Linked DNA regions of Homo sapiens: region 2 is linked to region 1. The links are contacts of gene promoters, found by promoter capture Hi-C in human tissues and cell types (Jung and others, 2019). All regions are on one chromosome and are shown on one strand. The core of a region is centred on a gene start or on the middle of the fragment in contact, and the rest is flanking DNA. Distances in the headings are between cores, read along the strand shown. Region 1 holds the start of IL6 (interleukin 6). Region 2 has its middle 13 kb from the start of TOMM7.

Evidence for each region. Contacts are between HindIII fragments. The study calls those that stand out against the background at their distance.
Region 2: a contact is called between a fragment that was not itself captured here and the fragment with the promoter of IL6 in region 1, in 3 of the 25 tissues and cell types used here (H1 embryonic stem cells, IMR-90 fibroblasts and pancreas).

The regions. Positions count from the first base shown.
Region 1 is chr7:22,724,076-22,729,369 of GRCh38, reverse strand. It overlaps IL6 (interleukin 6), which reads right to left and starts at 2,170. Exons shown (of 5, transcript NM_000600.5): 1 at 2,089-2,170; 2 at 1,736-1,926; 3 at 564-677. The coding sequence starts at 2,107. IL6-AS1 (IL6 antisense RNA 1) reads left to right here and starts at 1,750. Exons shown (of 2, transcript NR_131935.1): 1 at 1,750-1,802; 2 at 2,665-3,975. RefSeq lists an enhancer at 1,521-2,720 and a silencer at 2,706-2,755. The HindIII fragment of the contact is 12,372 bases long and covers 1-5,294 here.
Region 2 is chr7:22,807,192-22,812,485 of GRCh38, reverse strand. No RefSeq gene overlaps it. Among named protein-coding and RNA genes, the nearest start is that of TOMM7, 13 kb to the left of the region's middle. RefSeq lists an enhancer at 317-1,272. The HindIII fragment of the contact is 9,601 bases long and covers 1-5,294 here.

The DNA of each region.
Region 1 (5,294 bases), core at 921-3,420:
TGGACAGCACCATTTTAAATAACTGGACAATCAGAGGCCCCATGTAATTAGTTTTATCCAAAGCCCAACAGATGCTAGAATGTGGCAATGGGGATCCTTCTCTGATTGTCCCCCTTGATGTTCTTCCTGCACTCTTGCCCTTGTTAATGCTGGGCTGGAACCTCCTTTTATAAAATAATCAGAAGACAGTGCAGGTTATCTCACTGTGGAGAATGAGCTGGGCAGGGAGGGAGGGCAGACCTGGACCCTGCCAGGGGCAGCCAGAGAGGGAAAAGGCCCTGAGAGTACCTTTCCCAGGATGAACTAATTAAACCTGTGGGAGTTTTAAACATTTGACAGTTGTTAAAATCTCACCACAGTGGCACCATCTCTGGCCATACCTGTCCAAGAATAAACTGCCTTTAAAAAAGCTTGAAGTTGGCCTCCTCATGAAATTTACATAACATTCTTTACATTTACCCACTTTTTGTTGCTGCCTGGATCTATATGTATACAGGCACTGCATGCAAGAGGGAGAAGTTTTGCCTAAGGAATAGTGAAAAGTGAGTGCGACAAGTTGGTACCTCATTGAATCCAGATTGGAAGCATCCATCTTTTTCAGCCATCTTTGGAAGGTTCAGGTTGTTTTCTGCCAGTGCCTCTTTGCTGCTTTCACACATGTTACTCTTGTTACATGTCTGGGAAAGAATACCAGAATTGTTATCACCTAAGTGTCCCTAAAACAAACACCACTAGAGGGCCTTTTCATTGTTCAACCACAGCCAGGAAAGTCTCTAAGAAAAATGAAGCTACAACTCATTGGCATCCTGGCAAGCAAATTCCAGTGGAGTGGGGGCACACTTGGGTTCAGTTCCAAGCTCACCTGTGACTTTAGGTGTGTTACTTAATCCTGAGTCTCAGTTTCCTTATCTCCAAAAACCTTCCTTGCAAATTTGTTTTGAAGATTAGACACAATATTTATTTAAAGTGCCTGGCACACAGTAGATACTTAATAACAGCAATTTTGACAATAATTAGGAGAATATAATTCAAGCCATAGAATGTTCCAGCAGGAAGGATCTATGAGATCACCTAGTCCACGCCCAATTTTACTGATGGAGTCCAGAGGTGGTAGGGAATTTACCCAAGATCACAAGGCTGGTTTGGCAGAACCAGAATTCGAGTGTGGGCTCCCAATCTCCCCTCCTGTGTTCTTTTCTTTCTACCAAACAGGACCAAAATACCTTGCATTGAAAGTGGGGAGATGCTTTAACCTATTTATGATTTGCCACTTTGGTGGGCTCTGAGGTATGAATCTTAGCTGGAATGGCTTTGAGGAATCCTAGCCATTGAGTTTACATAACCAAAAAGTACTGCAACTGCTCTGAGAAGCTGAACATGCCTTTCAGGTGGCACTTTTCTAGTCCTTCCAAAGCCCGGGGGACAAAAAGGAGCTTCACAGACCTAATTTTTTGGAAAGGGAAAAGGAAGCCCTGAGAAGCAATAACCCTCAGCTCATGCCAAAGGTGGGCATGGATTTCAGACCCATTCTGCATTTTCCAGAAAGGAAAGGAACTTCCTGACACCAGCAAAGGATAAATACAGAAGTCAGTCTAGTCGGCCCCGTTGGCCTCAAATCTACAGTGCTCTAGAACCCAGCAAAGACCTCCTAATGCAGGCAGCCCCCGGCCACACGCAGGGGCAAGGGGAACGCATGCGCACCGGGCCCTTCAACCCCATCGCCAAGCCTACCCACCTCCTTTCTCAGGGCTGAGATGCCGTCGAGGATGTACCGAATTTGTTTGTCAATTCGTTCTGAAGAGGTGAGTGGCTGTCTGTGTGGGGCGGCTACATCTTTGGAATCTTCTCCTGGGGGTACTGGGGCAGGGAAGGCAGCAGGCAACACCAGGAGCAGCCCCAGGGAGAAGGCAACTGGACCGAAGGCGCCTGTGCCGGAGGGGAGCGAGCGCAGGGGTGAGCTGACAGCACAGCTGGGAGCCTGCCTCTGCTGCTGGCCGCCCGCCAGCCCTCCCTGGGCCACACACCCCTCCCTCACACAGGGCTCGACCGCCGCTGGCAGTTCCAGGGCTAAGGATTTCCTGCACTTACTTGTGGAGAAGGAGTTCATAGCTGGGCTCCTGGAGGGGAGATAGAGCTTCTCTTTCGTTCCCGGTGGGCTCGAGGGCAGAATGAGCCTCAGACATCTCCAGTCCTATATTTATTGGGGGTTGAGACTCTAATATTGAGACTCATGGGAAAATCCCACATTTGATAAATCTTTGTTGGAGGGTGAGGGTGGGGCCAGAGCGGGTGGGGCTGATTGGAAACCTTATTAAGATTGTGCAATGTGACGTCCTTTAGCATGGCAAGACACAACTAGGGGGAAAAGTGCAGCTTAGGTCGTCATTGAGGCTAGCGCTAAGAAGCAGAACCACTCTTCCTTTACTTTCTTTTTTTCTTTTATTAGTGACTCAGCACTTTGGCATGTCTTGACAAAGAGTAAAGCTGAAGTCATGCACGAAGTTTTACAAAGAGAAAAAAAATAAGCTAAAGCTATGTTTTTTGAAAAAAAAAAAATTTTTTTTCAGTGACCAGATTAACAGGCTAGAATTTAGCGTTCCAGTTAATTTGTATTTGTAAAAACCAAAGATGTTCTGAACTGAGTTTCCTCTGACTCCATCGCAGCCCCCCAAGCCTGGGATTATGAAGAAGGTAATACTACCAGTCATCTGAGTTCTTCTGTGTTCTGGCTCTCCCTGTGAGCGGCTGTTGTAGAACTGCCTGGCCATCCTCAAATTTCGTGCAGTTACTTCAAGGCGTCTCCAGGTGGAGTGTGTGACTCCTTTTTGCCACCGCGTGGCTTCTGCCACTTTCTTCACCTGCTTCAGCCCACTTAGAGGAGGTTGGCTGCTGCCCTGCCCTCTCCCAAGTGACCCCTTGGGAATCCTCCCAGTGAGGACTTTGCTCTCTGTGCCAGAGGTTTGCCTTGTGCTGCCAGTGCTCTCCCCATTGCCACTGAGTCTCTTCACCACTGTTTCACTGGGGCACCTGCATGGGCCCCAGGTCTCCTGGAGCCCTGAAATTACTGAAGCCCACTTGGTTCAGGGCAGAAAGGGGGAGAATACTACTCACCTCTTTGTTGGGGATGTCAAAGGAGGACCTTGTGGCATCTTGCAGAGTTTGTGTTTATCGCTCCCTCTCCCTGTAAGTCTTGATTTGAAATCAAAAGAAGCTAGAAGGAAACTACGGACGCAGGCACGGCTCTAGGCTCTGAATCTGCTTCCGCGTCGGCACCCAAGAATTTCTTATTGGGTCAAGCTGGTTCAGAAGCCCTCTTCCCTCAGGATGGTGTCTCTTGCAGGAGGATCCTTGGTCTCATGCAAATGGGCTCTAGACTAGGTTGTCCCTCCAGTCTCCAGAGACCCAGACAGCTCTGAGATGGCTTCAGGCTGAAACCAGACCCTTGCACAACACCAAAACACTTATTTACCAAACATGGTGTTACCTTCACAATCGGTTTCTTTGCTTTGCTAAGAAGAGATCTCTTCAAGATCGATAAAACAGTGACCTCTGTTGGGCATTTACTCAAGTTTTGTTTCGTGCATAACATTTCAGGACCCGCCTGTTGGGGAAAGTGAGGTCATCCATTCTTCACCGATTGTCTAAACAGAGACGGTGGTCCTCTGCCGCGGTGGGATTCTTTGGTGTGAAAATGAAAATGGGGGAGGATGGCTGGATGGTTTCATTTTTAGTGCTCTCCTGTCTTAAGCAACGTAGACACTCCTGAACCAAGTTCTCTTTCCTGCATGAAACGAAGCCACTGCTCCCAGCTCCGCAGCCGTGCACTGTGATCCGTCTATGTAATGTGAGCTTGCTTTTACTCAACTATCTATTTTTTAGAAAATACAATTCAATAAATTTCAAGTACTTGAACTGAGTGACACAATACAACACACAGATTTATCTTTTCAATAAAAAGTGTTTTTTAAATAGGAAGTTCGTGTTCATGATAAAATGTTCAAATAGGACATCAGGGCATGCAGGGAAAAGTGTCTCCTTCCTCTCCTGGCCCCTTTTCCCAGAGGTAGCACCTAATTGCCTGTATTTTCAACCAAATCCTCTGTTATCCTAGCCTGGGAAAGGTTTTCTCGTCTTCCCAGCTGTTTGATCCTGGCTGTTACATCAAGGACCTGTGCCCTTGTTTATTCACCTATAAAACGGGGGTAATAATAGTTCTTCCTTTCTAGGGCTGTTGTGAAGATGGAACGTGATGCAGTGTAAAAAATTCCTGGCGCATAGTAATCCCACAATACATGCTAGCTCTTTGAACATTCCTTGGCTCAGAGTCTCTGCCTTGGAGAGCTCTTCCAGCTCGGCTATATCGGTTCACCTGGTGTCTTGCCTATGAAGGAATTATGAATGAACCAGGCCTCTGTGCCAGCAATGAGCTGGTCTCCCAATCATTTTCCCTCAAAAGAAATGAGATTCTATGTTTTGTTGAAAATGTTTTATGGCACAAAGTGCAAAATGAAAAATAATAATAATTTTCTTTTTTGAGAACATTAAGATCCCCAAACCAGGTCTCTTGTTTTAGATAATTAGTCCAGCTTGCGTCTTGCTCCTACTAGACTTTTTCCAAGCCCTCCACTAAGTGTTTTTATGTCAGAATTCCACAGCCTTCCCTGTGCATGGTGATTGCCATTAATTCAAACTCCTGATAGTGGCCCTCGAGGGTGAAGGGGCCTGATGCTTCTGGGGTCAAGAAAGGGCAAACTGTGGGAAGGCATGTGTGTAGGGAGCTTGGAGACACTGTCTGCCCCCTGCACATCGCAGCATGGCACTTTATTAGTATCAATGCTTTGGGCTGGAATTTGCTTGTGGGAGAGATGAGCTCTACCTTGCTCCAAAAACGTTAATGTAACTGACATGTGCAATTCCACAATGATAGCTTCCTTCCTTTGCATCTCAATGGATTTTTCGCGTGGAGAGCTCATTCTTTGTTTTTTCTTGTTTTGTTTTGTTTTTTCTCTTGAGAAGGAGTCTTGCTCTGTTGCCCAGGCTGGAGGGCAATGGCATGATCTTGGCTCACTTCAACCGCCGCCTCCCAGGTTCAAGCAATTCTCTTGCCTCAGCCTCCTGAGTAGCTGGGACTACAGATGCATGCGACCACGCCCAGCTACTTTTTGTATTTTTAGTAGAAACGGGGTTTTGCCATGTTGGCCAGGCGGGTCTTGAACTCCTGACCTCAGGTGATCCACGCGCCTCGGCCTCCCAAAGTGCTGGGTTTACAGGCGTGAACCACTGTGCCCAGCCCC
Region 2 (5,294 bases), core at 874-3,373, 83 kb before region 1:
CATGGAATAGTAGCACTATTTTCTGGTAGAAGGAAAGGCAGCTAATTAATGGAAACTAGTTTTCAGTTCTAGACACTGGTTTCCTGGGACCTTCACCTGTATTTGAATCCTACTTTTATTATTTAGTTTTTTCCGTTCTTCTAACAAAATAGCGTTATTTACTACGTTTGGCCATTGTTACTAATACAAGAAAGTAGAACCTGAAACGGACAGTTTGGAAAGAGCCTATTGGGTTGAATATTTTAAGCATCCAGTGTTTAGGCATGATCATGACTATAATCCCTCTCAGGTGCTGGGAGCTGCCATCACCAGAAAGTTCTTATTTCTAATGTAAAACCCTCTTAGCTATTTAAGCCTATTTCCTCAAGGCTTGTTACCTTTGCCATGGAGACATAGAAGACTATTGTGGTGTCTTGTTGCATAAAGGGATTTTAAAGTGGAATTCTTGAGAGCTAACTGCAGGAAATCAGTTTTGGTAAGTACTTAACGTAACTGCTTCAGCATCTTTGTGAATCTAGGCGTGTGTAATTTTGCTGAAAACTGTATTAAAATTCCATAGAATTGCTTAAGTTTGTAGTTCCCCCCAATCCTTTTTGCCAAGTGCATTGTCAGGGAATTTTTGTTTAGTAAGTATTTTGTTTATACGTTTTTCTTCTGTTTCTCACTTGGGATTTTCAGAAATTGAGAAAGCTGTGTCAGGTATCTGTTTTGATTACATAGTAATGTGAAGGGTAAACAACTGGTTGTGGTTTTTTTATTTTTTATTTTTTTGTTTTTTGAGATGGAGTCTCGCTCTGTCACCAGGCTGGAGCACAGTGGTGTGATTTTGGCTCACTGCAACCTCCACCTCCTGGGTTCAAGTGATTCCCCTGCCTCAGTCTCCCGAGTAGCTGGGACTACAGGTGCATGCCACTACAGTTGGCCAATATTTTGTATTTTGGTAGAGATGGGGTTTCACCGTGTTGGCCAGGATGGTCTCGATCTCCTGACCTTGTGATGCGCCTGCCTCAGCCTCCCAAAGTGCTGGGATTACAGGTGTGAGGCACTGCGCCCCATCTGGTTGTGTTCTTTTAAGGATGACCTTTGTGAACCCCAAATGTCTGAGACAGGTTTCAGTCAATTTAGAAAGTTTATTTTGCCAAGGTTAAGGATGCGCCCATGACACAGCCTCAGGAAGTCCTGAGGAGGTGTGCCCAAGGTGGTCGGGGTACGTAGTTTGCTTTTATACATTTTGGGGAGATGTGAGACATAAATCAGTATGTCTAAGATGTACATTGGTTTGGTCTGGTAAGGCGGGACAACTCTAAGTGGGGGCTTCCAGGTTATAAGTAGGTAAGAGACAAAAGGTTGCTTTCTTTTGAGTCCTTGGTCAGCCTGAATACACAATTTAGTCTGGCTCAATGAGTCTGCATTTTTACATAAATAGTGCAGAGGAAGCAGTCATATGCATTTGTGTCAGGTGAGTCTCAGAGGGATGACTTTGAGTTCTGTCTGTCCTTTGTCCACAAGAAATTTCCTGTGGGCAAATTGTGAGGGAGGTATGTAGCTTCTTTTCTTTGTGGCTGTCTTATTTACAAATAAAACAGGAGGAAGTTTGGCCTGACAGTTCCCAGCTTGACTTTTCTCTTGGCTTAGTGATTTTGGGGGTCCTGAGATTTATTTTCCTTTCACACCTTGTAGCTATCTGTAAAACCTCAGAAGATTTTAAAATAAGGCATCCAGAATTAAGTAGGAAGGAACCAGCTCCCTGATCTCAGGTCTACGGAAGCTAGGAACAGAGTTTAAGCACTTCTTCAGGGCACAGCCTAAGAGCTGAGACTAGTACACAGTTTAATGTGTATGTATATATTATAAAGTTTGTGAAATGTTTAAGCTCCCACATTTTATGAGTTTTAGTTTTTAGGACAGTACAATTCAAGCATTTATTGATTTCTGTTCTGTGCTAGACACTAGAGAGTCCTTATGATTGAGATTATTCCTGACCTTGATTAGCTCATGGAAAAACACTGAGCTGGTAGGACCTGATTTAAGTCCTGGCCCTGTCAGTTCTAGAACCTTTGGTGAAGTCACTTTTGTTTTTTCCTGTTGTGGGGAGAACAAGGCCTCTGTGTTGCCCAGGCAGGTCTGAAACTCCTGGGCCCAAGCTATCCTCCTGCCTCTGCCTCCCAAAGTGCTGGGATTATAGGCGTGAGCCACCGCGCTTGGCTGAAGTCACTTAATCTTTAGGTTTCTTCCACAAGATAGGAACAATAATACCTGCCCCAGGATATTATTTTCTAAACAAGTGATTTTCATAGCTGGTCCCAGACTAGCTTCACCTGGAAACTTGTTAAAATGCACATTTTCAAGTCTTACTCCAGACCTGAATCAGAAACTGGTGATGAAGCCCAGCAATGTGGGTATGCCTGTGTGTTTCATTTCCTCAAACATTATTTTAAGCATATTTTGAGAAAATTGTAGAGTTGTATACAGTGTAAGAAATGATACAGAAAGATCCCTGTATCCTTTACAGTTTCCCCCAATGGTAATATCTTGTGTGAACCCCAATTATCGGAGACAGATCTCAGTTAATTAGGAAGTTTATTTTGCCAAAGTTAAGGACGTGCACCTGTGACACAGCCTCAGGAGGTCCTGATGGCATGTGTCCAAGGTGGTTGGGGCACAGCTTGTTTTTATACATTTTAGGGAGACACAAAACTTCAATCAATATATGTAAGATAAATAGTGGTTTGGTCCAGGAAGGTGGGACAACTCGAAGTGAGGTAGGAAGCTTCCAGGTCACAGGTAGATAAGAGACAAATGGCTGCATTGTTTTGAGTTTCTGATTAGCCTTTCCAAATGAGTCAATCAGATATATGTTAATCTCAGTGGACAGAAGCATGACTTTGAATAGAATGGAAGGCAGGTTTGTCCCAAGCAGTTCCCAGCTTGACTTTTCCCTTTAGCTTAGTGATTTTGGTGTCCCAAGATTTATTTTCCTTTCACACTTGCAAAACTGTGGTCAGCATCAGGATATTGACATTGATGAAGTCAAGAAAGAACATCTATCACCACAAGGATCCCTTGTATGGTGGGATATAGTCAACCTTTCTCCTCCTACCCTGCCCCTACCGCTAACCCCTGGCAACCAGGAAATCTGTTGACTACTTTTATAATTTTGTCATGTCAAGCAAGTTCTATAAATGGAATCAGACAGCTTTTGGGTTTGGCTTTTTTCAGTCAGCATAATTCTCTGTAGATTTATCAAAATAGTTTTTTCCTTTTTATTGCTGAGTAGTATTCCACGGGATGGATGTACAAGGATGACATCTGGGCTCCCAATTTTTAGCTGTTACAAGCAAAACTGCTGTGAGCAATTGTGTACAGGTTTTTGTATGATTAATCTGTGATTTAACAAATCACAGGTGCTTCTGATGCAAGTCAAGTTTGAGAACTTCCCCAGACTTGCAGTAGCCTTCTTGCTTTCACCTGTGCATTACAGTGTGCTCTCAATGGAACATCCAGAGTGATCCTTTTAAAAATAAGATCACATCACATCCTGATCAAAGTTTTCCAGTGATTTCCCATCTCACTGGGAATGAAATCCCAAGTACTTATTTTCTGTGACCTACAAGACCCAATGTCATCTGGCCTTCTGCACCTTTGGTCTCTTTGTTGCCTATGATTCATCACCCACATTTGCTTGTACTCTTTCTGTTTTGTTCCTATCCAGAGAAAGTCCAAGTATAGTCTCACCTTGTAGTCTGTACTACCTGTTCTCTGCTAGAACTCTCTCCTCCCAGATATCTATATGGTTGGCTTCCTCTATTCCAGTCTGCCTAAATGTCATCTTGTTAGAGGGCTTCCCTGATCCTTTAAAATAGAAGACCCTAAACCTGTGTTGCGGATGCAGAATTTTTGCTCCTTAGTTAGCTAAATCCAGGTTCTTGTGTCATGACCAGGAGAAATTAGGCACACAGACACATTGAAGGGTGAGGAGGGCTGAATTTATTGGGTGAGAAGGAAAAAAAAAAAACTCAGCAAAGTGAGAGGGGGTCCTGCTAACAGAGGGAACCCCCCGACCCACCTCGCAGATTGAATAGCAGGCCACCACAGACATTGGCTGAAGAGACCAGGCTCCTCCCCACTGCACAGGGTGAGAACTTCCCATGGCTCCACCCCGTTCCCCCAGTGTGCATGTGGGCATTATTCAGAAAGAGTCAGTTGGGAAAGGGTGGGCAAACGGGCAGTTCTCCCTGAGGGTCGAGGGTTTCATCTGGGACCAGCAGTCCAGTCCCTCAGCCTTCGAGCTGTTTTAGGCTTGAAGGTGAGGTTTGCCAGTGACTGTTGACTGTCTCCTCTATCACGCTCTTCTCTAAAGAAGTACATCTAATTGCCATTAGATAAGCATAAGGATGAGGACAAATATCAATCTTAACTGCTTCCTTCTGGCAGGGGGTGCTGTTTTGGGAAGACAGCAGTCAGAACTCCCACAGAGGCCTATCTAAGGGTCTCTGGCAAAAGGGGCCATTGTCTGAGGCTCTGGTTGTATGACCGTTTCGAGTTTGATGTCCTGAAGGCAAGAAGAGACAAACTGGGTTATTAGAAAACAGGTATCAAAACAAAACAAGGGGAGGGTAAGGACAGCTCAAAAATCCTGAGGCCTTTTATCAGTTTGCATAGGGATAGGGAAGCCAAAAGCCTGGCTGATAAAAACAACAACAATAACAAAAACTTTACCCTTTTGCTGGCATGTGAGGCTTCTGGGTTCCCTTCCCCAAGCCCAATCCTAAGCCAACCAGTTTAAGGTTTGGGAAATTAACTTTTCCCAGTTTAGAGGATGTAGCCAAGGGAAGTGTCCCATAGTGCAGAGATACGATTACGTATCTGTGAAGAAATAACAGAGGAGGAAAAAAAAAAAGGTGTTTTTTCTAAAGGAGTCCCAGGGGTTCAGGATGCATTTGAAAGGGATACAGACTGAAGATGAATGGCTACTCATTTAGAAAGGAGAGAGCGAGGCATCCCAGGTTCCCTTCTCTTCCTAGCAAATACCCACAGTACATGAGGGAAAGTGAGGTGTTCCTCTCCTCTTCCTTTCCTCCATCCTTGTATCCCTGAGTCCCAGTGACTGTGACAGTGTGTTGCCCATGGGTGCTAAAGTGGCTTCCATCCATGTTAACGGGGGCCTAGGGGCTGGGAATATTCACTCTTACCCATGTATGCCCTATCTCCTGTGCTGTCAGTAGCCTTTGAATTCCCTAGACATCATTTATGCCATGGATACTAGCATGAACTTTATCTGTGAAATGGGAAGC